Linked DNA regions of Homo sapiens: all the other regions are linked to region 1. Evidence: promoter capture Hi-C in 16 types of primary human blood cells and fetal thymus (Javierre and others, 2016). All regions are on one chromosome and are shown on one strand. Each heading gives the region's core, a stretch centred on a gene start or on the middle of the fragment in contact. The rest is flanking DNA. Distances are from core to core; before and after follow the strand shown.

The links. Contacts are between HindIII fragments. The CHiCAGO score rates a contact against its expected background, and 5 or more counts as called.
Region 2: a contact is called between a fragment that was not itself captured here and the fragment with the promoter of CAVIN1 in region 1, in 6 of 17 cell types (activated CD4 T cells, total CD8 T cells, naive CD4 T cells and 3 more). The highest score is 8.6, in activated CD4 T cells.
Region 3: a fragment that was not itself captured here is called in contact with the fragment with the promoter of CAVIN1 in region 1 in 1 of 17 cell types (megakaryocytes); the score reaches 5.0 in megakaryocytes.
Region 4: a contact is called between a fragment that was not itself captured here and the fragment with the promoter of CAVIN1 in region 1, in 5 of 17 cell types (neutrophils, megakaryocytes, endothelial precursors and 2 more). The highest score is 5.3, in neutrophils.
Region 5: a contact is called between a fragment that was not itself captured here and the fragment with the promoter of CAVIN1 in region 1, in 5 of 17 cell types (endothelial precursors, megakaryocytes, fetal thymus and 2 more). The highest score is 9.2, in endothelial precursors.
Region 6: a contact is called between the fragment with the promoter of COASY here and the fragment with the promoter of CAVIN1 in region 1, in 6 of 17 cell types (neutrophils, activated CD4 T cells, total CD8 T cells and 3 more). The highest score is 6.9, in neutrophils.

What each region holds. Positions count from the first base shown.
Region 1 is chr17:42,421,341-42,424,839 of GRCh38, forward strand. CAVIN1 (caveolae associated protein 1) reads right to left here and starts at 1,916. Exons shown (of 2, transcript NM_012232.6): 1 at 1,287-1,916. The coding sequence starts at 1,757. LOC102725238 (a long non-coding RNA gene) reads left to right here and starts at 1,848. Exons shown (of 4, transcript XR_007065758.1): 1 at 1,848-1,932. The HindIII fragment of the contact is 2,664 bases long and covers 1-2,405 here.
Region 2 is chr17:42,200,370-42,203,868 of GRCh38, forward strand. STAT5B (signal transducer and activator of transcription 5B) reads right to left here. Exons shown (of 19, transcript NM_012448.4): 17 at 2,388-2,439; 18 at 1,971-2,078; 19 at 1-1,495. The coding sequence ends at 1,369. Among named protein-coding and RNA genes, the nearest start is that of GHDC, 7.6 kb to the left of the region's middle. The HindIII fragment of the contact is 2,323 bases long and covers 745-3,067 here.
Region 3 is chr17:42,220,638-42,224,136 of GRCh38, forward strand. STAT5B (signal transducer and activator of transcription 5B) reads right to left here. Exons shown (of 19, transcript NM_012448.4): 5 at 2,745-2,919. Among named protein-coding and RNA genes, the nearest start is that of GHDC, 28 kb to the left of the region's middle. The HindIII fragment of the contact is 2,425 bases long and covers 716-3,140 here.
Region 4 is chr17:42,251,788-42,255,286 of GRCh38, forward strand. The region is part of intron 1 of STAT5B (signal transducer and activator of transcription 5B); the gene reads right to left. Among named protein-coding and RNA genes, the nearest start is that of STAT5B, 23 kb to the right of the region's middle. The HindIII fragment of the contact is 4,157 bases long and covers 1-3,499 here.
Region 5 is chr17:42,273,056-42,276,554 of GRCh38, forward strand. STAT5B (signal transducer and activator of transcription 5B) reads right to left here and starts at 3,336. Exons shown (of 19, transcript NM_012448.4): 1 at 3,193-3,336. RefSeq lists a silencer at 2,969-3,499. The HindIII fragment of the contact is 902 bases long and covers 1,799-2,700 here.
Region 6 is chr17:42,560,328-42,563,826 of GRCh38, forward strand. COASY (Coenzyme A synthase) reads left to right here and starts at 1,821. Exons shown (of 9, transcript NM_025233.7): 1 at 1,821-2,995. The coding sequence starts at 2,296. RefSeq lists enhancers at 1,897-2,146, 2,157-2,346. The HindIII fragment of the contact is 14,901 bases long and covers 1-3,499 here.

The DNA.
Region 1 (3,499 bases), core at 666-3,165:
GCAGTCAGCAGAGCCACAACTCCCGGAAAGGGGTCTTCTAACTTGGAGGGTGTGGGAAATCCAGCCTTCCCTTTCTTTCCATTCCCTTCAGCAGGGAGAGGAAGGGGAGAGGGGAGCATAGACTAACCCCCCTGCCCCACACGATCCCGCCTCCCTGGGGTTAGGAGCATCAGCAGGCCTTTGGGAGGCGGGGAGGAGCCAGGCTGGAACACTTGCCGCCCAGCCCAAAATCTCATCCCCGATGGCACTGCGGAAGCGGCGTGGAGAGGAGCAGCATAGAAACCCGAGACTCCCAGGTTTATTGGGGGTTATGATCCAAAAGCTACATTTTTATCCAAGTGTGAAGAATGGGGAGAGCTGCAAAGAAAGCAACAAGTGGCCCCGGGCGGAGCCGGGGGGTGGGGGCGCCAGCCTCCTCCCGCCGGCTGCGCTGCTGCGCCTGGCCCCCGCCCCCGCAGGCATGCGGGGTGATTCACCTCGCCCAGACTGCGCCCAGACCGCCGGACCCCGCAGGGGCTGTCCACCCACTCCACCAGCCCCTCTTGCACTCCTGACGCCCACTCTTCCCCGCCCAGCCCCGCCCGCTTCCAGGAGGCCCAGGGTGCCAGCGCGCCGCGGGTGAGGGTGTCCTCAAGGGCCTGAAAATGCCTGGTGGCCAGGAGCAGAGAGCAGCGAGGGGACAGGGGTGGGCCGCCGAGGCCGATGTGGGGGCGCGGGGGCGCAGGGTCTGGGGAGGAGGTTGGCGGTCGCGTTCCCCGCTTGGCACAGCCCCCGCTGGTGCGTGCCTGAGCCCTGAATCACCCGCTATATCAGGCCCGCAGGCGCAGAGGCCCCAGGCCCGGGCCCCGCAGCCAGTGTCCGCTTACAGCGGACCCCAACGATCGCGAGGGACCCCTGACTTTCCTAGAAACTTCCCCCAAGTAGGAAGAAGTTTGACAGAGCCAATTAGGGAGGGAGCGGTCTGCGAGGGGCAGCGTCCTCGAGTCCACCCGCTAATTCGGTTCTGCTACAAGTTTGGGACCCGAGGGAAGGATCTGAGTGGGGAGGTGCGAGGTGCAGAGCGCGCCCCTCTACGCGCCCCAGGAGTCCGCCGCTCCCTCCACCCCATCCTACCCCACCCAACCCCACCCCAGCCGCGCTCACCGGAAGGAGGGTGGATCTGCCGGGCGCCCGGGCCAGGCTGGGAGGGGAGCAGCGCCACGGGCAGGTCTCCCCACCCCAACTCCCAGGCAGGGGACGCGGGCCGGGCGCGGGAGCTCTGGGCGCCTTCCGCCCTGTGGGCTCACCTGGTAGATCATGACTTTAAAGTTGCGGCGCCGCAGCAGCTCGGCCTCGTTGACCTCCAGCTTCTTGATCTGCCCCGCCTGGCGCTCCAGGCTGCCGCGCACGGTCTTCACGTTGACGCTGACCTTGCGCACCTTCTCCAGCAGCTTGCTCACCGTATTGCTCGTGGTGGCGTGCGCCTTGCCCAGCTTGCTCAGCTCGCCCTGGATGCTCTGCACTGCGCCCTCCATCTCCGCCTGCCGCTCCTCCAGCTGTGCTTGAGTCAGCTGGATCTGGTCTACGGCCCCGATGATTTTGTCCAGGAGGCTCAGCACCAGCACGCCGTTCACCTGGTCCGACTTGATCAGCTCTTCTGAGCCGGCCCCCGACGGCTCCTCCGCTGCCTGAGCCCCAGCGGAGGAAGGCTCCGGGGCCTCGGCGTCGGGGTACCCGGGAAGCGGCCGCTCGACAATATAGAGCGTGGGGTCCTCCATGGCTACCCGGAGCCGTGCGGGACCGGCCGGGTGGGGCTGGAGCTGGAGCGGGAGACCCGGAGAGAAGCAGGAGCGGAAGGGAGGAGAGCTAGCGGGCGAGAGCGGAGAGCAGAGGAAACTCGAGCCACGTCCGTGCGCACCGGGACAGCGGCCAGAACTGCTGGGCGGGGGATCGGTGAGCTCCCCAGCTCCCGGGCCAAACTCCGGAGTCTGATCGCTGATTGGCTGGCCCCACCCCAGAAAGGGAGGGACCGGGGCAGAAGGGGAGATCGACGAGGCGGGGCGGCGGAGGGGGACCCAAGAGCCGAGCGCCCCACCCTTCCCGGGATGGTTGGAATAGTTGGAGCGGGAGACTAGGGCCTCCGCTGGCGGCGGGAGCGGGACGGGCGGAGGAATGCGAGCTGAGGAACGGAATCAGGTTCTAAGAGTGTTGCTCTCTGTTTCCCTCTCACTTGAATTGCTCATCCGAAAATCCTCAAGATCTGGGAGCCGGGTGGACCAGGAGATTCTGAAATTATAGGCAAAATCTTGTATTTGCCTTTACCTAGATTTTGAGCACAAAAGGACCCTTGCCCTTTACAATATTTTCTAAGAGGCCTCTCGGATTTCCTCATCACCAACCCCAACCAGGTTACTAACTCAGGGGTAAGCTTAGGGGGTTGTTTGTGGGGGGCGGGGGGAGAAAGAGAGAACGTATTTGGGGTCACGGTGGTGGTGAAGGGCTGCGAAGCTCCTCTAAGTTCTTTTTAGAATTGCCCTAACAGAGTAGAATTAAGATGGGCAATCAAACGGAAAATAAAGCCCACCTCCCAACCCCCCTTTCTGAGACAGGGTGTCACTCTGTCACCCAGGCTGGAGTGCAGCGGTCTGATCACAGTTCACTGCAGCCTCGACCTCTTGGGCTCAGGCAATCCTCCCACTTCAGCCTCCTGAGTAGATGAGACTATAGGCGCTTGCCACCACGCCCAGCTAATTTCAATTTTTATTTTTTTCAATTTTTATTTTTTTAAGAGACGGGGTGTACACTATTTTGACCAGGCTGGTCTCGAACTCCTGAGCTCAAGTGATCTGCTGGTTTCAGCCTCTCAAAGTGCTGGGAGCCACCGCGCCTGGTGTAAAGCCCTTTTTAAAAGCCCACCTCTCTTAGGCCAGGCGCGGTGGCTCATGCCTGTAATCCCAGCACTTTGGGAGGCCCAGGCGGGTGGATCACGAGGTCAGGAGTTCAAGACCAGCCTGGCCCAAGATGGTGAAACCCCGTCTCTGTTACAAATACAAAAATTAGGCCAGGCGCAGTGGCTCATTTTGGGAGGCGGAGGTGGGTGGATCACCTGAGGTCGGGAGTTCGACCTCAGCCTGACCAACATGGAGAAACCCCATCTCTACTAAAAATACAAAATTAGCCAGGCGTGGTGGCGCATGCCTGTAATCCCAGCTATTCGGGAGGCTGAGGCAGGAGAATCACTTGAACCCGGGGGGCAGAGGTTGCAATGAGCTGAGATTCGCGCCATTGCACTCCAGCCTGAGTGGAATTCTACAGAGTAGAATTCCTCTTTTTTCCAAAAGCTTTTTCAATCCTTAGTAGAAGGAATTTAAATTACTTTAATACATTTCTCCTAAATTCTAAAGTAAGTTGGTAATCTGCCAGTTGGTAATCCACTGTCTGAGTGCAGACAGAGTGAGACTCTGTCTCAAAAAAACAAAAAAAACAAAAACAAAAGCAACCCACAAACCCACGTCTCACC
Region 2 (3,499 bases), core at 656-3,155, 220 kb before region 1:
CCCCTCTTCCTCCACTACCTGCTGTAGCCCATTCCTTCCTTCTGGTGTAAAGCTACAGAAGAAGTCGTGGAACAAAATTATACCGAGGCTTTTTTTGTTTTGTTTTATACTTTTATCAAACTCCCCAGCAAACTTGCTGACTGCATTTCCACACATTACCAACACCTGCCAGGACTTCACAGCAGGGTGACCCGCTAAGCAAGCTGGCCTAGGTTCAGCCCACACTGCTGCTACCTACTCTTCAAGACATTAGGTGTGAACAGAGAAGGGGAATGAGGTGACCTGGGTTTGAATGACCCAGGGCCCAATGCACAAGAGAGAATTTTGATGTCAAATTAGGGTGGCAAGGAGAAAACAAAAAAGATCCAACTTAGAAACAGAACCATGATTCAACATTTGCAAAAAGCATCATCAATAAGCCTGAAGAAGGCCACGGACTGTGCATCCGCTGGCTCAGAGAAAGGCTGGGCAGCCGGAACAGCAGCTTCCTGGGTAACCAGGCAACAATCTCAGCGCCTGGGAGTCAGGGCTGCGCACTCCACTCTGGCCAGAACACAAACGGCATTGGCACTGTAAGCTCTCAGTTACGTGGCCCTCTTTTCTCTCCTCTATTTCTCCAAACATATGTGCACACCCAGAGGAACTGAGTGGCAATTCCAGGGTGCGGGCGGGCAGGAGGGGAGAGAGGACAAAGAGAGAATAAGATGAGCTAAATGTTTTGTGAAAAGCCACCGCCCATCCGAAAGCTTGTGACTTCCCTTGCCCCAACAATCTTTGTAGGTTGCCCCTTTTCCCATTCCTACCCAAGAACACAGGGGTGGGGGAGAGGGAAGGCTCTCTTTGTCAAAAAGCAGTTATCTACATTTCAGAAGAAAAGCAGAGACAATCACGGTTATATATCAATTGCTTGGCAGACAGAGTGACGAAGACTCACTGGAGCACATGTGCTTTCTCCTCCCTTTGTCCTTCTCTTATTCAAACAGCCACATGTCAAAGTCCAGCCACTCTTAAGACACATGGCCAACTTCCAGGCTTCACGAAACTCACTGCCTTTTTGCACAAAGTAAAAACCACCACAGCTTCTGTCTGTGGCCCCTCTGCTACAACTAAACTCTCAGACAGTGAGAGGGAGAAACACCATAACGTGCAAACACGCACACACACACACACACACACACACACACAAACACATACTCGCACTCCCTTCGCTGGTGCCACCATGCACAGAAACACTAAGGTCACAACTAGTATTAACACTTCACATTATGAGTATTGTTTCAAAAGAGAAGCGATTCATGGAATTAAAACATCCACAAGAGTGATTCCTCTGGTGAAGATGAAGAAGCTGAAGATGGAGAGGTCGCGGGGTCACGATTGTGCGTGCGGGATCCACTGACTGTCCATTGGCCGGCCCAGGAGCTCCTCCACACGCCGCGCTACGTCCATTGTGTCCTCCAGATCGAAGTCCCCATCGGTGTCAAGGACTGAGTCAGGGCTTGGGAGGGAAAGAAGAGGGATGAAGGGAAGGGGAAAGCCTGCCAGAGACCACCCCAAGCCCCACAGGCCACCAGGGGAGCAGTCTGAGCCAGCCTATGCCCTCAGCCTGGGGCTTCATGGGAAAAGAACAACCATTCAAACAGCTGGCTGTACAGCAACTCAGACTGAAATACCCTCCCCTGTTACCTCTCACACCGGCTGTCCAGACACATCACAACTCCACTCAGTCCTTAGAGCAAGAAAAATCTCCATATTGAGAGAGGGGAACAGATGACATTTGCCCAACCCGACTCTAAACCACCAATCACTTCTGGTCAAATCTCTCCCTCCCAAAGGCCAGAGCCCGGGCCAGGGCTGTGTGGTCTCAGACCTAGAGGAGCTCTGGATTCCTTTGACCCCAGCCCTCCAGGGGTCCAGCCTGGGGCCAAGCCCCCAGTTCCTCCCCTGTGGACCCCCACAAGAATGCCACCTACTTCTGTGGGTACATGTTATAGTGAGCCTGGGGACACACAGCTGGGGAGGGGGCCTGGTCCATGTACGTGGCGCTGCCGCCCCCGGCATCTGCAGATGCGTTCACAAACCTGCAGAAGGAAGAGAACAGAGCTTCAGCTGCCAGGGAGGCCAGGGCAGCTGACTTGGGGAGGGGACCAAGGGGTATCTTTGTCTTTCTCAGGGTGTAGAAGGACAAAGTGCCCCACTCGGCCCTGGGGCTCCAGCTACAGGAGTGGGGCCTCAGGTACTGGCATAGCATCACCAAGCCCAGGTCCTTCCCCAGGGCTGAGACAGTTTCCCCGGGGGAGCGGAAAGCTGGGCCAGGATAAGGATGGGAGGCAGGGTCTGGGGGAGGAGGAAAGAGGCAGAAGGAGAGCCACAGCCACCTGGACACTTACTCAGGGACCACTTGCTTGATCTGTGGCTTCACGTATCCATCAACAGCTTTAGCTGCCAAGGGAAGAATGTAGTAAATCAAAGTTCTCAAGTGAAACAAAAATGTGATCTTCCTTATGAATCACATCTTTTCTTAGGACAGAACACAACCACCTAACTTATCTAAGGATATGACACAAGCACTTAATATTTTTTTGTTTTGTTTTTTGAAACAGTCTCACTCTCTCATCCAGGCTGGAGTACGGTGGTGCAATCTCGGCTCACTGCAGCCTCCGCCTCCCAGGTTCAAATGATTCCGATGCCTCAGCCTCCTGAGTAGCTGGATTACAGGTACACCACCACACTTTGGCTAATTTTTGTATTTTTAGTAGAGATGGGGTTTCACCATGTCACCCAGGCTGTTTTCTAACTCCTGACCTCAAGTTATCTGCCCACCTTGGCCCCCCAAGGTGCTGGGATTACAGGCATAAGCCACCGCACTTGGCCAAGCATTTAATATTTCAATCTGTTAGGAAGACCTGGTAGAGGAGAAGGTCAGCACTAAAACTGAAATTCAAGATATCTTCCAAATTGGCTTGGATGTTTCAATAAATTCTTCAAACCATGGAAACTATGTACTTCAATACAAATCTAAGTCAAGCACTAATTGCATACTAATTAAAAAAAAAAAAACACCTTGAAAAGCTTAAAGTCCAAGATGCAGCAGAGAGACAGGATTTGTTCTACCTGACCCAGGGGATAAAATCAGGACCAGGAGGGGCAGGTCATAAGAGGACAAATGTTCAGTCATGCAGGGAAGAATGTTCTAAGTAGAACTGCCAGGAAAAGAAATGATTTATCTTAGGAAGGACTGATTTCCTTGTCACTGGAGGTTTTCTTTTTTTTCTTTTTTGACAGAGTCTTACTCTGTTGCCCACACTGGAGTGCAGTGGTGCGATCTCAGCTCACTGCAACCTCTGCCTTCTGGGTTCAAGTGATTCTCATGCTTCAGCCTCCCGAGTAGCTGGGATTACAGGTGCGCACCACCATGCCCAGCTACTTTTTATATTTTTGGTAGAGATGGGGTTTCTCCATGTTGGTCAGGCTGGTCTCGAACCCCTGACCTCAAGTGATC
Region 3 (3,499 bases), core at 678-3,177, 200 kb before region 1:
GAGGGAGAGCATGTCCAGGGCCACTGGGGATGCAGAGCCACCAAGATTCTCTCAGGAAAGGGAGGCCGAAGGGAGGCGGCTTCCCTCCACACCATCTGTGAGGAGTCTCATTGATGGCGGGACAGGGAGTAAGTTAGGCCTCATTACCTTTTAAAAATTATTATGAAATAGGTAAGACACAGGGAACGTGGAACACAGGAGCACCTGTGTATCAATAACCCAGGCTAAGAAAGTAAACATGTCCACAGTTACAACCACCACCGCAGGCCCACCCCACCCTCCCAGCGACAGCCCGTCTCCACCACACTGGGACTATTAATCCCTTCCCATCACCTTCTCAACAGCCCAGAGTCCTTGCTTGAGCTGAGTCAGAAGATGCGCGCACCAGCATGTCTTGGTCGAGCTCCTGGCTGGCCCCTGAGGGCCACGTCACTCTGACCCCAGCCCTGACCCATGGGATGCACAAGCTGGGACAGACAAAAGCAACTCTATGTAGCCAGGAACAGCCCAGAGCTAGAACTCAGAAATATGGCTCCAATCTCACTGCAGGTATCGAGCAGGAAGAGGATCATCCAGGGACGGACAGATCCAAGGTATCTGCACGGCTACCTCAGGAATCCTGCCCAGCCACAGGGAGGGTGGTGGTGATCCCAACACCTGGGCCCAGCCTTCCTATGCAAGGGACCCACTTAGGGCTCTCCTGGAAATTTGCAGAAGCTTTTGGGAAGGAGGCCAGGGAGACGGGAAGCAATTTCCCTACTCCACTGGAGGCAGCTGAGCCTTCCCTGGCAAAAGCAGATCAATAGTCTGTGTTTCTGCTGAGTGAACTTGACAAATGGGACTGAGAAGACACTGCGTGATAGATCCAAACCCAACCTGAATCCAAACCTAATCCGCCACCATGCACAGGAAACAGAAAAGCCAGGCACGGGATCAGAAATACTGTTGACAGTCTAAGGACTTGGGTAGGAATAGCCATCCCAAATCTTCCGTTTCCATTCTCTGAAGGAGCTGCCCTTCTTCTAGGGCCAGTCTAGGATGGATTCAGATAAAAAAGGAAGACAGGCTAGAATCATCCTGTCAACCTTTACTCAATAACTGTTATGTTTCAGGCATTGTGCTGGCCTCAGGGTACAGAGATAAAAGATATAGTCCCTTCTCAAAGATTTATATTCCAGTGGAGAAGATAAAGAGTAAATAAGTAGTATCACTATAGACATAAAATGGAACCTACATACATGGAATTAGAGGAGCATGTGCTGTGTGTGTGTGTGTGTGCTGTGTGTCTATGTGTGTGTGGTGTGTATGTGTGGTGTGTGTGTGTGCTATGTGTGGTGTGTGTGTGCTGTGTGTGGTGTGGTGTGTGTGTGCTGTGTGTGGTGTGGTGTGTGTGGTGTGGTGTGTGTGTGCTGTGTGTCTGTGTGTGTGCTGTGTGTGGTGTGTGTGTGCTGTGTGTGTGCACTGTGTGTCTCTGTGTGCTGTGGGGGGTGTGTGTGCTGTGTGTGTGTGTGCTGTGTGTGTGATGTGTGTGGTGTGTGTGTGTGCTGTGTTGTCTGTGTGTGCTGTGTGTGTGTGTGTTTGGAGGGGCTGGGTGGTTGAGCCAAGGCTTCTCTGAGACTGAGCTGGGCATGGAAGCAGAGAGGAAACTATTAAAGCTCAAACTGCCAAACTGCTACAGGGTCAAAAGGGGGCGCTGGTGGGGCTCCACAGCCTCACCACAGACTGAAGCTCTCTGTGCCCCAACTACTAAGCAGGATTTATACCAGGCTAGGGAAGCTCTGTCCATAAGGGCTACCTAAGGGGCGTTAAGTGTACTCTGTTTCAGGAAGACCTCTGTGAATAACTGCATAGAACATTAGAAATCATATACAGGTCCTTAGTACTTACACGTACCTGCTTAGAAAGGTTTCTTTTCCCCCTTAGAGATAGGGTCTTACTATGTTGCCTAAGCTAGTCTGAAACTACTGGCCTCAAGTGATCCTCCTGCCCTGGCCTCCCAAAGCACCAGGATTACAGGTGTGCAAAACCACTCCCAGCTTAGAATTTTTTTTTTTTTTTTTTGAGACAGAATTTTGCTCTTTTTGTCCAGGCTGGAGTGCAATGGTGAGATCTCGGCTCCCTGCAACCTCCGCCTCCCGGGTTCAAGAGATTCTCTTGCCTCAGCCTCCCAAGTAGCTGGGATTACATGCATGCGCCACTGGGATGCCCAGCTAATTTTGTATTTTTAGTAGAGACGGGGTTTCACCATGTTGGCCAGGCTGGTCTCGAACTCCTGACCTCAGGTGATCCGCCTGCCTCAGCCTCCCAAAGTGCTGGGATTACAGGTGTGAGCCACCGTGCCCAGCCAGAAAAATTTTTAAACATGTAATTATATAATTTCCTATTTATCATTTCAATAAAGCTCCACTTATAATATGCCTACTATATACAAAAGTATTGTTTGCTAGTATTTATTTAGACTGTGAGCTCCTTCTCAAAAGAAGAAATGTCTTCCCTGGCAGCTCAGAAGCTCCCTGGATGTGGGGACCTGAGTGAGATATGCACTTAAGCGGGGGGTCCTGTCATCTCCCCTTCCTAAATCTCATCCTCTCAGCACTGTCTTCAATGCAAATAAGTCCCTGCTACTCAGAGAAAGGTCGCTGCCTCCGAATGGAAAGTGTGCTTTCTCCCAACCCCACCAGAGCTGCTTTCCAGTCCCCAGGCCCAATCCTCAAGTTGCACAATGTGCCTCCACCGCGCCTCACCTTGGATCCTCAGGCTCTCCTGGTACTGGATGATGAAGTACTCCTGAGTCTGCTGCAGCTTTTTTAACTCATTCTCTGTGTCCTGCGTGACCAGTCGCAGCTCCTCAAACGTCTGGTTGATCTGGAGGTGTTTCTGGGACATGGCATCAGCAAGGCTTCCAGCTGGAGAGCTACCCTGGGAACATATGGGGGGCAGTGCAAGGCAGTGCGAATGGGAGGAAGACTGAGGCCTTAATCCCCAGGAAAAGCCAGCTCCTACAACCAGGGTAAGACCCCAAAAGGTAAATTTTGAGTCGGGAGGAAAAGCAAACGTCATCATGAGACACAGGGTGGAGTGGGAAAAGTGAGAAACAGGTGAGCGGACAGATCATGGCTCAGATCACAAAGCATGGGAGAAGCTTCCATTTCAGATCTGACCTCCACCAGAGTATTCCAAACGAGGTCCATTGAATTACCTTTGGAGAAACTAGAACGTAACCTGGTCCAGTGTCACCTGGGTTTTCCTACTAATGAGGAGGTGGAGTGATTCCTCTTCCACTCACTGACCCAATGCAAGGACGGCATTAAGCATTAGGGAGGCCATGGGGAGCAGGGCCATGTGAACACACATCATCTGTGTCCTCACTCAAGATATTCTCGTGATGGAATCATTTGCTTCCACCATGGAAGAGGCCAAACCTCTTGCAGGCATCCTGGAGACCCCAGGGTGAAGTGATGGGGGAGGCATAAACAAGGTCTCTGTGGACCCAGCCCTG
Region 4 (3,499 bases), core at 256-2,755, 170 kb before region 1:
AGGAGCTCAAGACCAGACTGGCCAGCATGGTGAAACCCCGTCTCTACTAAAAATACAAAAAATTAGCTGGGCGTGGTGATGCGTGCCTGTAATCCCAGCTACTGGGGAGGCTGAGGCAGGAGAATGGCTCGAACCCAGGAGGTGGAGGTTGCAGTGAGCCGAGATCGTGCCACTGCATTCCAGCCTGGGTGACAGAGCAAGGCTCCGTCTCAAAAAAAAAAAAAAAGAAAAAAAGAAAAGAAAATATACAAATAACTATGTTACTGTTGATGTACATTAAGTATGAGTTGAATGCTAGAAGATCATCTGGGTTCTCCAAGCTATGCCATCAAGAAATAGACACTCTGATACAGAAGGCAACTTCTGAATTTAACAGTGCTGTGCGATATATCAAGGGGAAATTTGGGACAAGGATGCCTGGCAGTTCCACAAGCCTAGGAAAAGTGCCTCAAACAATCTTTAACACCTTTAGGTAGAAATAGAATCAGTACAATATTTGTATCCAATGTCTTTGATCATTTTGATAATCTTATTTTTAAAAGATGGGATGTTTTCCTCCTCTAGAATTAGAATTTACCCTACACTCTGGACATAAGAACCAAGGCAACTAAGTTATCTGCTGGCCAACTAATAGACTGTAAGCCATCCTGGAGCAAGGACCATGTCTCTCTGATTCATTTTGATTTCCCCAATATAGTACTTGATATACATGGTTGGTATTTAGTAATTGTGTATTGAATACAATTTTTATAGACCTCCATGTTACAAAAAGGACCTAAATTGGGGGAAATGGATGGTAGGTCAGTTATTTCCTTCAGGATATTTTTAACACTGTGGAGGTCATTAATCTGAATCCTTATTACAGGAATAATGGGAGTGAATCACACTTTATAGAAACCATGACGGAGGTTTTGACTCATCATTGGTGCTAATCAAGGTAAACATAATAGCAAGTTGTGCCACCCTCATAAACATCGTGACAAGTTTGTAAAATAGAGCTAACACTTTATTGCAGCAATTTCAAAGAGAAGAATTACATGAAATATGATGATGCTAAGATGAGCTAAAATTCCAAAGAAAGGATCTTCTCTAAGCAAACTAACCTTTCTTTTAATTATATCTCAAGAAAGAAGCTGAGTATAAACGAAAAGCACATTTGTCAACAATTCACTCATTCAGTTACCATGTATGCCACTAACTACAATCCAGAAAGATTTATGATTGTGCCAAAACAAGATGATGAGGTTCTATACCCAGAATGTAGATTAATGTTAGAAGGATGACTCAGGACTTATGGCATCAGTCTGATAGACGTTGAACCTTTCTTTCTTTCTTTCTTTCTTTCTTTCTTTTTTTCATCTCTGTGAGTTCTTCAACTACAGGACAGAATGCCAACTCAGGAAGATAATTCAGTAAACACAGCCACCTTTGACTACAGACTATTTTTTATCCAAGATGTATTTCCATGTAGCAAAGTAAATTTAGCAAATGAAAATATAGTCTTGACTTGCTATGGATGTCCCCTATCTCTGCCAAAAATGACAAGCTGCTTGCTCAAAAGCTGTCACTAATTAGCAGCTGCTGCTGTAAAGAAAACCAAAGTAAGTGCCAATAAAAGCATATTGAACTCAAAGAGGGCCCTATGACAAGAGATGGGAAATGCAAGAATCTATTTGTGACTAGTAAACTTACATAAATACTAGCAATCTAAATTTGGGAGATGTAGGGGCAGGGCAATAATGGCAATACATATCCATTCATATTTAAACAGGAAGGACTGAAAGAGTCTCCTAACATCCTGAAAGTCAGAAATACCAAGGTATTGGTGTTGCTGAATTCCATCACAACCATTTCCACCTTTCCAATAGGAGCCAGTCTTGGTTTTGGATGATGATGATTATTTTTAGAGACAGGGTCTTGTTCTGTGGCCCAGACTGGAGAGCAGTGGCATGAACACAACTCATTGCAGCCTGTGACTCCTGGCCTCAAGTCATCTTGCCACCTTTGCCTCCCAAAGTGCTGGGATTACAGGCGTGAGTCACCGCGCCTGGCCTGGTTTTGGATAATTTCTCATTGTCAATACTTCTGTCTCTGGCACTTTAACAACTGCATTTGTAGACATTGTAAAAATAAATTTTAAAAATAACTTTCATATTCTATGGGCTTCGGCCTAAACTCTGATGGTTCCGAATCTACCTGTTGACCCCTCATGTTATAGGTTGAAACTATGAAGTCAAGCAGAAGTGATCTGCCCAATGTAAATGAGCACAGATACAGTGGTAGAAAATCACTTTACTAGCCCTATTTCAAGAGGCTCTAAAGGAGTCCACAACATCCCAGCACTTTGGGATGCTGAGGCAGGAGGATCACTTGAGGCCAGGAGTTCAAGACCAGCCTGGGCAACACAGCAAGACCTCATCTCTACAAAATAAAAATTAAAAAATTAGCCAGGCGTGCTGGTATGTACCTGTAATCCTAGCTACTCAGAAGGCTGAGGTGGGAGGATGGCTTGAGCCCAGGAGTTTGAGGCTACAGTGAGCCATGACTGCACCACTGCACTCTGTCTCTTAAAAAATAATAATAATAAAGTAGTCTACAGCCCAAGATCCTGCTTTAAAGCTAAATTCCATAGATTACTTTTCAAATCATCCTTCGAAGCTGTCCTCTCTTTGTTCCTATCAGTCAGAACTCCCAGTATATTTCTCTTTTTCCTCAACAAGTTAGTTTCTGTCCTTAAAAAAAAAAAAATTAAGAATATTTCCCCTTCATTTTGGTTCTCTTACTCTCTTTTTCTCTCTCCCTCCAGGTGAACTGCTAGAGAGCTATGATTGTTTCATCTATATTTGGACCCCTAGGGTCAGGCTGTGTCTTCAGCAACTACTCAGAAAAATGAGAATGAAAAAGAAAGAAAAAAGGAAGAAAGAGAGAGAGGGAAGGACAAACTGGAAGGGAAGGGAAGGAAAAGTAGGGAGAAAGGAAGATGTAATGAGAATAGAAAATTTTTAAAAATGGAAAAAAAAAGAAGGTCGGTGCGGTGGCTCATGCCTGTAATCCCAACACTTTGGGAGGCCTAGGCAGGCGGATCACGAGGTCAGGAGATTGAGACCATCCTGGCCAACATGGTGAAACCCTGTCTCTACAAAAAATACAAAAATTAGCTGGGTGTGGTGGCATGCGCCTGTAGTCCCAGCTACTTGGGAGGCTGAGGCAGGAGAACCACTTGAACCCAGGAGGCAGAGGTTGCAGGGAGCCGAGATCGTGCCACTGCACTCCAGCCTGGCAATGGAGCGAGACTCCGTCTAAAAAAAAAAAAGTTTCTTAACTGTCGTTTCTTAATGACACGCAATCAGAACCTCCCCTGCAGCTGAGGTCCCCTGTGGAGAGTATGTCTCATTGTCTGTATAAACAATTACAACAATGTACCTGTAATTTTCCAGTTCATAATCAGGCTGTAAGAATGAGAACAATTTGTTTTATGAAACATGGAGAAAGACTAATC
Region 5 (3,499 bases), core at 1,000-3,499, 150 kb before region 1:
TAATTAACAGTGAATACAATTTTAAAAAGTATTTATCACTCTGATGCTTAGAACTTAAATTTAAGTACAAAAACTGTCTGATCAATGGAAACTAGATTGTTAAGTTTGACTTTCTTATTCCCAGAAATAAGCATAAAACTGTTGTGTTTCCAACACTGCAGGAGAAAAAAAAAAACTTCTGATTTTAGAAGAGTTCTATTCACAAAGCTCAGAATTAAAAACATTTTCTTCCTTTAAATACCACACATTTGAGGACAGCGATAGTGCAGAGCTAACTTTGAAGCATTATTTTTATTAAGTTGCACAGTTAAAGTATTTTGATACTTTGATATTTTATAGTATCAAAATAAAAGGATATTCTTCTCAAGAGTCCAGTAACCTGGAATTGCCAGATAGCTTTTTAAACGAATAAGTTTCAAATTATCAGAAAAATCATACAAACTAGGGTTATTTTGCTTCCTTTTGTAGGAATAATGCAGTAATCTGCACTCTTAACAGAAAGGGAAAAAATGTGTCACAGATAGAATGTCCAGAAATCTGTGAATAACTTTATGAGATACAGACATTTTTGTAGGGCACGAAAATAGTTAGGCTTCCTTCGATTCCACCTGTAACCTGCATCTAATCTTGAGCATGTTATTTACCTATCTATAACGTCTTCCTTTTACAATAAGACTACCTGTGTCACCTACCTACATAACAACAAGCCAAATAAACCACAACAAATGGATTCATAATATATAAGCCTAACAAAAATTACAGACAATTTGAATACTAACAATACTATGATTTGAAAAAACTCGACTTAAGTATCAAAAAGTAATAAATGGCAACTTTAGTCTTGATGTGGCTTTTACATATGTAAATGACATAAAAACAATCAAGAGAGGAAGAAAATGGAGATGAGATGAAAAGTCAGAGCAGGATAGGAAGTGTTGACCAAAATATTTATGTTGTAACACTCCAAACGATGATAGCACATTTTTCTCCTACAATCATACATACTATGAAGTACACACCTTAAATTTCTGAACACAATCCATATTAATATCCCGTGGGCAAAAAATACAAGCACCGAAAAGGTGAGAACTGATGAGAAGGTGGGATAGTTTACCTAGTTGGGTATATAGCAAAGATTATTTTGTGCAGAGTTTAGCTTCAAGTTATGCAATAACCAAACTACTGGTGATAGAAATCAACTTTTTTTTTCTGATGGTTTGCTTTACAAAAAAAAAAAAAAAAAAAAAAAAAACCTCTCCATTCCTTCCCTGTGTCTCAATCTGGAGCTTGAAATTTCATCTTCCAGAGGCTACAGTAGCAAACAAGTCATCTCCTAGATAACGCGCTTACCTGACCCAAGGTGTGGACTTGTTTGAATTAAACGTAACAGATACCACAAATTGTCACATAGGAAGTTTTTCTTAAAATCAGCAGCCCCTTCTCTTATTTAGCCATGTCCATTCTAACAACTGTGATCTTCCATGAGATGGAAACTGGTACCCAAATGAATAAACAAAACAACCCAAAGCCTTAAAATAAAATCAATCAATAAGATTCTCCCCATTTGAAGTGATCAGAACCACTCCAATATTTACAGTGTTACAAAATGAAATTTTAAAACATGAAAGGCACACTCAATAAAATACATCCTCACCTAGGAACTCACAGGCAATGAACATAACGCAATATAACATAAGCAAATGGACAACAATAGAATGTTGGGGAGAGAGGCACAGTTCTATTACCTTAATTGAAAGATAACAAAATTATTTGAAATAATGTAGACCCAACAGCTGAAAGCTTATTATGGCCCAGGCGGCTATCCAACAGCTTTGGAAACCTAAGATCCAAGCAGACCATAAACACCACTTGAAGACTGAAAAAAATGACATAAGCCCAAGTATGATATTCAGTGTCACGCTGGCCCTTTCAAAGGGCATTCCCTGAGGACACTGCAGAGAAAATGTATGGAATTGTATCTAGGCAAAGATCTGTATACTGCACGATGCTTTGGGAAGAGCACGAATCTCAGAGTCCTTGAAGTTTCAATCCCTGGATACTCAACAAACAGCCGTGTCACCTGAGCAGGCCACTTACTCCACCTATCTGGGCCTCAGTTTCCTCATTTGTACAATAAAAGAATGGCATCATCGCTGGGTTCCTTTCCAGCTCTAACATTCTTTGACCCACTTTTGGCACTATTTATTTGATACGAGGTATGGCGGGATCACAGGGACCAAGAAGAAAAGAACTGACTCTGGCTCTTTGGCAAAGAGAGAATCGGTATCTCTTTTAGTCTTTAAAATTCTTGTGCTTTTCATTAATCCCGTCTTTCTAAAAGCTGACACTTGGTTTTCTTCTTTGGCTTTTCCATCACTGCTGGCTACAAGTGTTTGCAACCGCCTCTTGCTCCGTGTGAGTTCTTTCCTCTTTGTTCACCCCGACCATCTTGCCAGATTCCTTTAGCCTCAGACCAGCTTTTGTGATACAACTCCCCTTCCGACTCTCCATATCTACCCCCCGACACCAGGAGCACTTTTAACCCTTTATCCCTGACTAGAAAGAAAAAGCACACTGCATCCCACGGCCACACGCACGAGCCCAGGCCTGGCGGGTCCTGATGTGGGATCCCGCCCCCCAGAGTCTTATCGAAACGTTCGTATTTGTTGTCTTGATTCCTTATAAGGCCCTGTTTCTTGAAGCTTTGCTAATACCCCCCACCGCACCAGGCACCCCCGCAGGCTCATCCCATCCCCGGAGTCCCGGGAACCTCTTTTGAAAGAAAGAAGTTAAAGCAAGGAAGACGGCTGGGGATATTCGGAATTGCAACGTGAAGGTGTGAGGCGGCTGACAGCAGCCCCCTGAGCTCCTATGGGGTCGGCGCGGGGTCCCCACACACCCACTCAGCACACGCGCACGCAGCCTTTAAAGCGCACGCCCCCCGCGGCGCCGCGGCGTTCGCAAGTCCCCCTCGCGCACCCCGCATTGCCCTCAGCCTCCCCGGCAGCCAACCCGGACCCCCTCTCCCCGCGCGCGCCCCTCGCCCAGCGCGCAACCACCGCGGCCCGGGAGTGATGGCGGCGGCGCGGCCCTGACGGGCGGCTGAGCGGCTGGAGCGCGGGCCCCGCCCGGGCTGGCTCCCCGGCCTGGCTCCCCCGGCCCCGGGCCCAGGGCTCGCCCCGCAGCTCCTACCTCGCTCGGCCCCTCGGGCGCCCGCGGCTGCTCCGGCCCAGCTGTCTGGCTTGCCCGCCCGCCCGCTCGCTCCCTCCCTCGGCCGGGCCGCCGCGCGGAGTTGCCTGCGCTGGGTCCCCGCCCGGGGTGACGGCTCCGGCCGCCGACTCTCCTCCCGCCGGGGCCCGCGGGGGCGCGCGCGCCGCTCACGCGCGGAGGCCCAGGGACGCGCGCCGCTGGCAACCCGGAGCGCGCCCCGCTTCCTGGTTCCGCCCGGCGCGCGCTCGCTAGCCCGCTGTCCCTCGCGCCCCCTCCGCGACCGCCCTTG
Region 6 (3,499 bases), core at 571-3,070, 140 kb after region 1:
ACACACAGTACTCTATACCCCAGGATGGCAGGGACATTGTTTTGTTCACTGGTCCATCCCTGTGGGAGGCAGTAAAATACACATTTACTCAATAAAAATGACTCTGTATGTGGTGTGTCAGACTGTGTGTCCAGATGTCTTGGGACATTCTCTGGCAGCCTTTGCTGTTTGTGTCTTCAAATCAGACCCTATCTTTAAATCTAACATGTCTCCTGTGAGAAGCCTGGTCCCTTAATACCTTTGTGGCTCTACAACTCTTCCCTCCTTGACTGTATCTCTTCCTCCAGGTCTTTGCTGTTTTCCTGAATCACCTTATCTAAAATAGCATCTCCTTTTCTCCATCATAAGCCCAGGTTTTGTGGGGCTGGGGGCTTATTTGCTTTTGGAGACCGTCTTCAAGAATACAAAAGATAAACACAAAATTACATATAAAAGTGAGTTTTGTTTTTTTTTTTAAGTTTCGGATACCACGGCACATTACTGGAATCTTGGAGACTGGCTTCTCTCCCTTTTGATCTCCATGCACAACTTACCTGAGATGTATTCTAATAGCAACCTGGCTTCCCCTCCACACTCAGCCTTTCAAGCGCCCATTAGCTTCGCAGTAAATCTCCCACACTAGGTATCCAGCCTTTGCCTTTTTCTTTTTTCTTTTTTTTTTTCCAGAGGGAGTTTCGCTTTTTTTTTTTTTTTTTTTTTTTTGAGACGGAGTCTCACTCTGTCACCCAGGCTGGAGTGTAGTGGTGCGATCTCGGCTCACTGCAAGCTCTTCCTCCCGGGTTCACGCCATTCTCCTGCCTCAGCCTCCCGAGTAGCTGGGACTACAGGCGTCTGCCACCATGCCCGGCTAATTTTTTTTTGTATTTTTAGTAGAGACGGGGTTTCACCGTGTTAGCCAGGATGGTCTCGATCTCCTGACCTCGTGATCCGCCCGCCTCGGCCTCCCAAAGTGCTGGGATTACAGGCGTCAGCCACCGCGCCCGGCCGGGAGTTTCGCTCTTGTTGCCCAGGTTGGAGTGCAATGGCACAATCTTGGCTCACCGCGACCTCCGCCCACGGGTTCAGGCGATTCTCCTGCCTCAGCCTCCTGAGTAGCTGGGATTACAGCCATGCGCCACCACGCTCGTCTAATTTTGTATTTTTAGTAGAGACAAGGTTTCTCCATATTGGTCAGGTTGGTCTCGAACTCCCGACCTCAGATGCTCTGCCCACCTCGGCATCCCAAAGTGCTGGGATTACAGGCGTGAGCCACCGCGCCCAATCAGCCTTTGCCTTTTTCTCCTGTCCACAGAGACCCCGCAAACAAGCGCATCAGAGGATCTGGGTGGTGCGAGAGCCTCCTACAGCAGCCAGGTACACACAAGGCCTCAGTTTTTCCATCTGTGAAATGGGTACGTGGACAGACCTGTCCAGTAGCCTCCCATGTGAGAATCCTCGGACTGAGAGGGTACTAGGAGGGCTAATACAGCGCAGCCCTGTGATTCCCCACCTCTGTCCCTGGAATGAAGGAAATCTGGGTGTTAGTTCTGGCTTTGCCGATGCCTCTTGGGTGGCCTGGCTGAAACTAATCTCTCCTCATCAGGCCAGAAGGGAATCTGTGAAATGGGCTTTGAAACCTGCCTTGCCTTTCTCCGCCCGGTCCCAGCGGGGGTCCGATCGGCATCAAGGCTTCACCCACTCCCAGAGCCTTCGGGATCAGCCCCACCCCATCAGCAGGACACAGCCCATGCCACTGGAAATCTCGCGAGAATCCCGCGCTGAAGCGAAGTCGAGACGTTTGACCTTCCTCCGTTTCCGTAGTTCCGAGTTGCGGTTTCTCCGTTAGTGCTTCCGGGTTGCAGCCAGGGAAGCCTCCGCGGTGGTGCAAGTGGAACCCAAGCCTTGAGGTTTCAGTGAGTAGGGGGCCGACGTGAGCTTTAGCGTCCCCCTTTAGCCTCCCTCTTCGATTCCTTGAAGACCCTGGTGCAGCTTAGCAAGAGGGCCCAGGATTTTTGGATCCCCAGCCCTGTGACAAGGGTTCCTGTCCAGTTTCCCCCTCCCAGGATTTCGACTCAGTTCAGCGAAGTCACCGCCCCGTCTGAGAAATGAGGACACCAAGGCTTAGAGCACAGCCCCGAGGCGCCGTCTACCAGGCCCCGTCCCCTCCCCCGGCTCCTGTCGGTCAGCACTGAAACCCCGTCCCTGCTCCAGGCCTCCTTCTCTGGGGTCCAAGGTCCCATACAGGCCTCTGCCTCGGCCGCAGGCCCTTCAGTCACCGTCGCCTCGTCTCCCTGACTGTCCGCAGGCCTGGGCAGCATGGCCGTATTCCGGTCGGGTCTCCTGGTGCTGACGACGCCGCTGGCCTCCCTAGCCCCTCGCCTGGCCTCCATCCTGACCTCGGCGGCCCGGCTGGTGAATCACACACTCTATGTTCACCTGCAGCCGGGCATGAGCCTGGAGGGCCCGGCTCAGCCCCAGTCCAGCCCCGTGCAGGCCACGTTTGAGGTTCTTGATTTCATCACGCACCTCTATGCTGGCGCCGACGTCCACAGGCACTTGGACGTCAGAATCCTACTGACCAATATCCGAACCAAGAGCACCTTTCTCCCTCCCCTGCCCACCTCAGTCCAGAATCTCGCCCACCCGCCAGAAGTCGTGTTGACAGATTTCCAGACCCTGGATGGAAGCCAGTACAACCCGGTCAAACAGCAGCTAGTGCGTTACGCCACCAGCTGTTACAGCTGTTGTCCGCGACTGGCCTCGGTGCTGCTATACTCCGATTATGGGATAGGAGAAGTGCCCGTGGAGCCCCTGGATGTCCCCTTACCCTCCACGATCAGGCCAGCTTCCCCCGTGGCCGGGTCTCCAAAGCAGCCGGTGCGTGGCTACTACCGTGGCGCTGTCGGTGGCACGTTTGACCGCCTGCACAACGCCCACAAGGTGTTGCTCAGTGTCGCGTGCATCCTGGCCCAGGAGCAGCTTGTGGTGGGAGTAGCAGACAAAGATCTGTTGAAGAGTGAGTAAGAGGGACCCTGGACTAGGGTGGAGGATCCCCAAATCTCCCCACCCCCGACCCTTATGCCGAGATCAAGGAAGGGTAGGGCCATTCATTACTTCCCACCCTTCCCAAATGTCACAGTGGTTGACACTCAATTGGTGCTAAGGCCATTTTGTCAAATGAACAGCTTTCTCAGCATGTGGTCCAGTCACCACTCAATCAGAATACCCCAAATGTGAAGCAAAGGGATCTGCATTTTAGCAAGTTTTCCAGGTGATACACCCTAATGAGACACTGGGAATGAATGGGTGAGTGAGCTGCAGGTAGCAGTGCCACAGACAGGAGGAGGAAACTCAAGCATGGCATGGGTCTTGGAATTTTCCATCTGCCTCTGATGCCCTCTGGCACTGCTCGTTCTCTGGAGTGGTTTCCTGGTGGCTTATTCTCTGGACACATGCCAGCCCTTGGAGTGACTATTGTGCTTGCCTGTTTCTTCACCTTCATGCTCCCCTCACCATCACC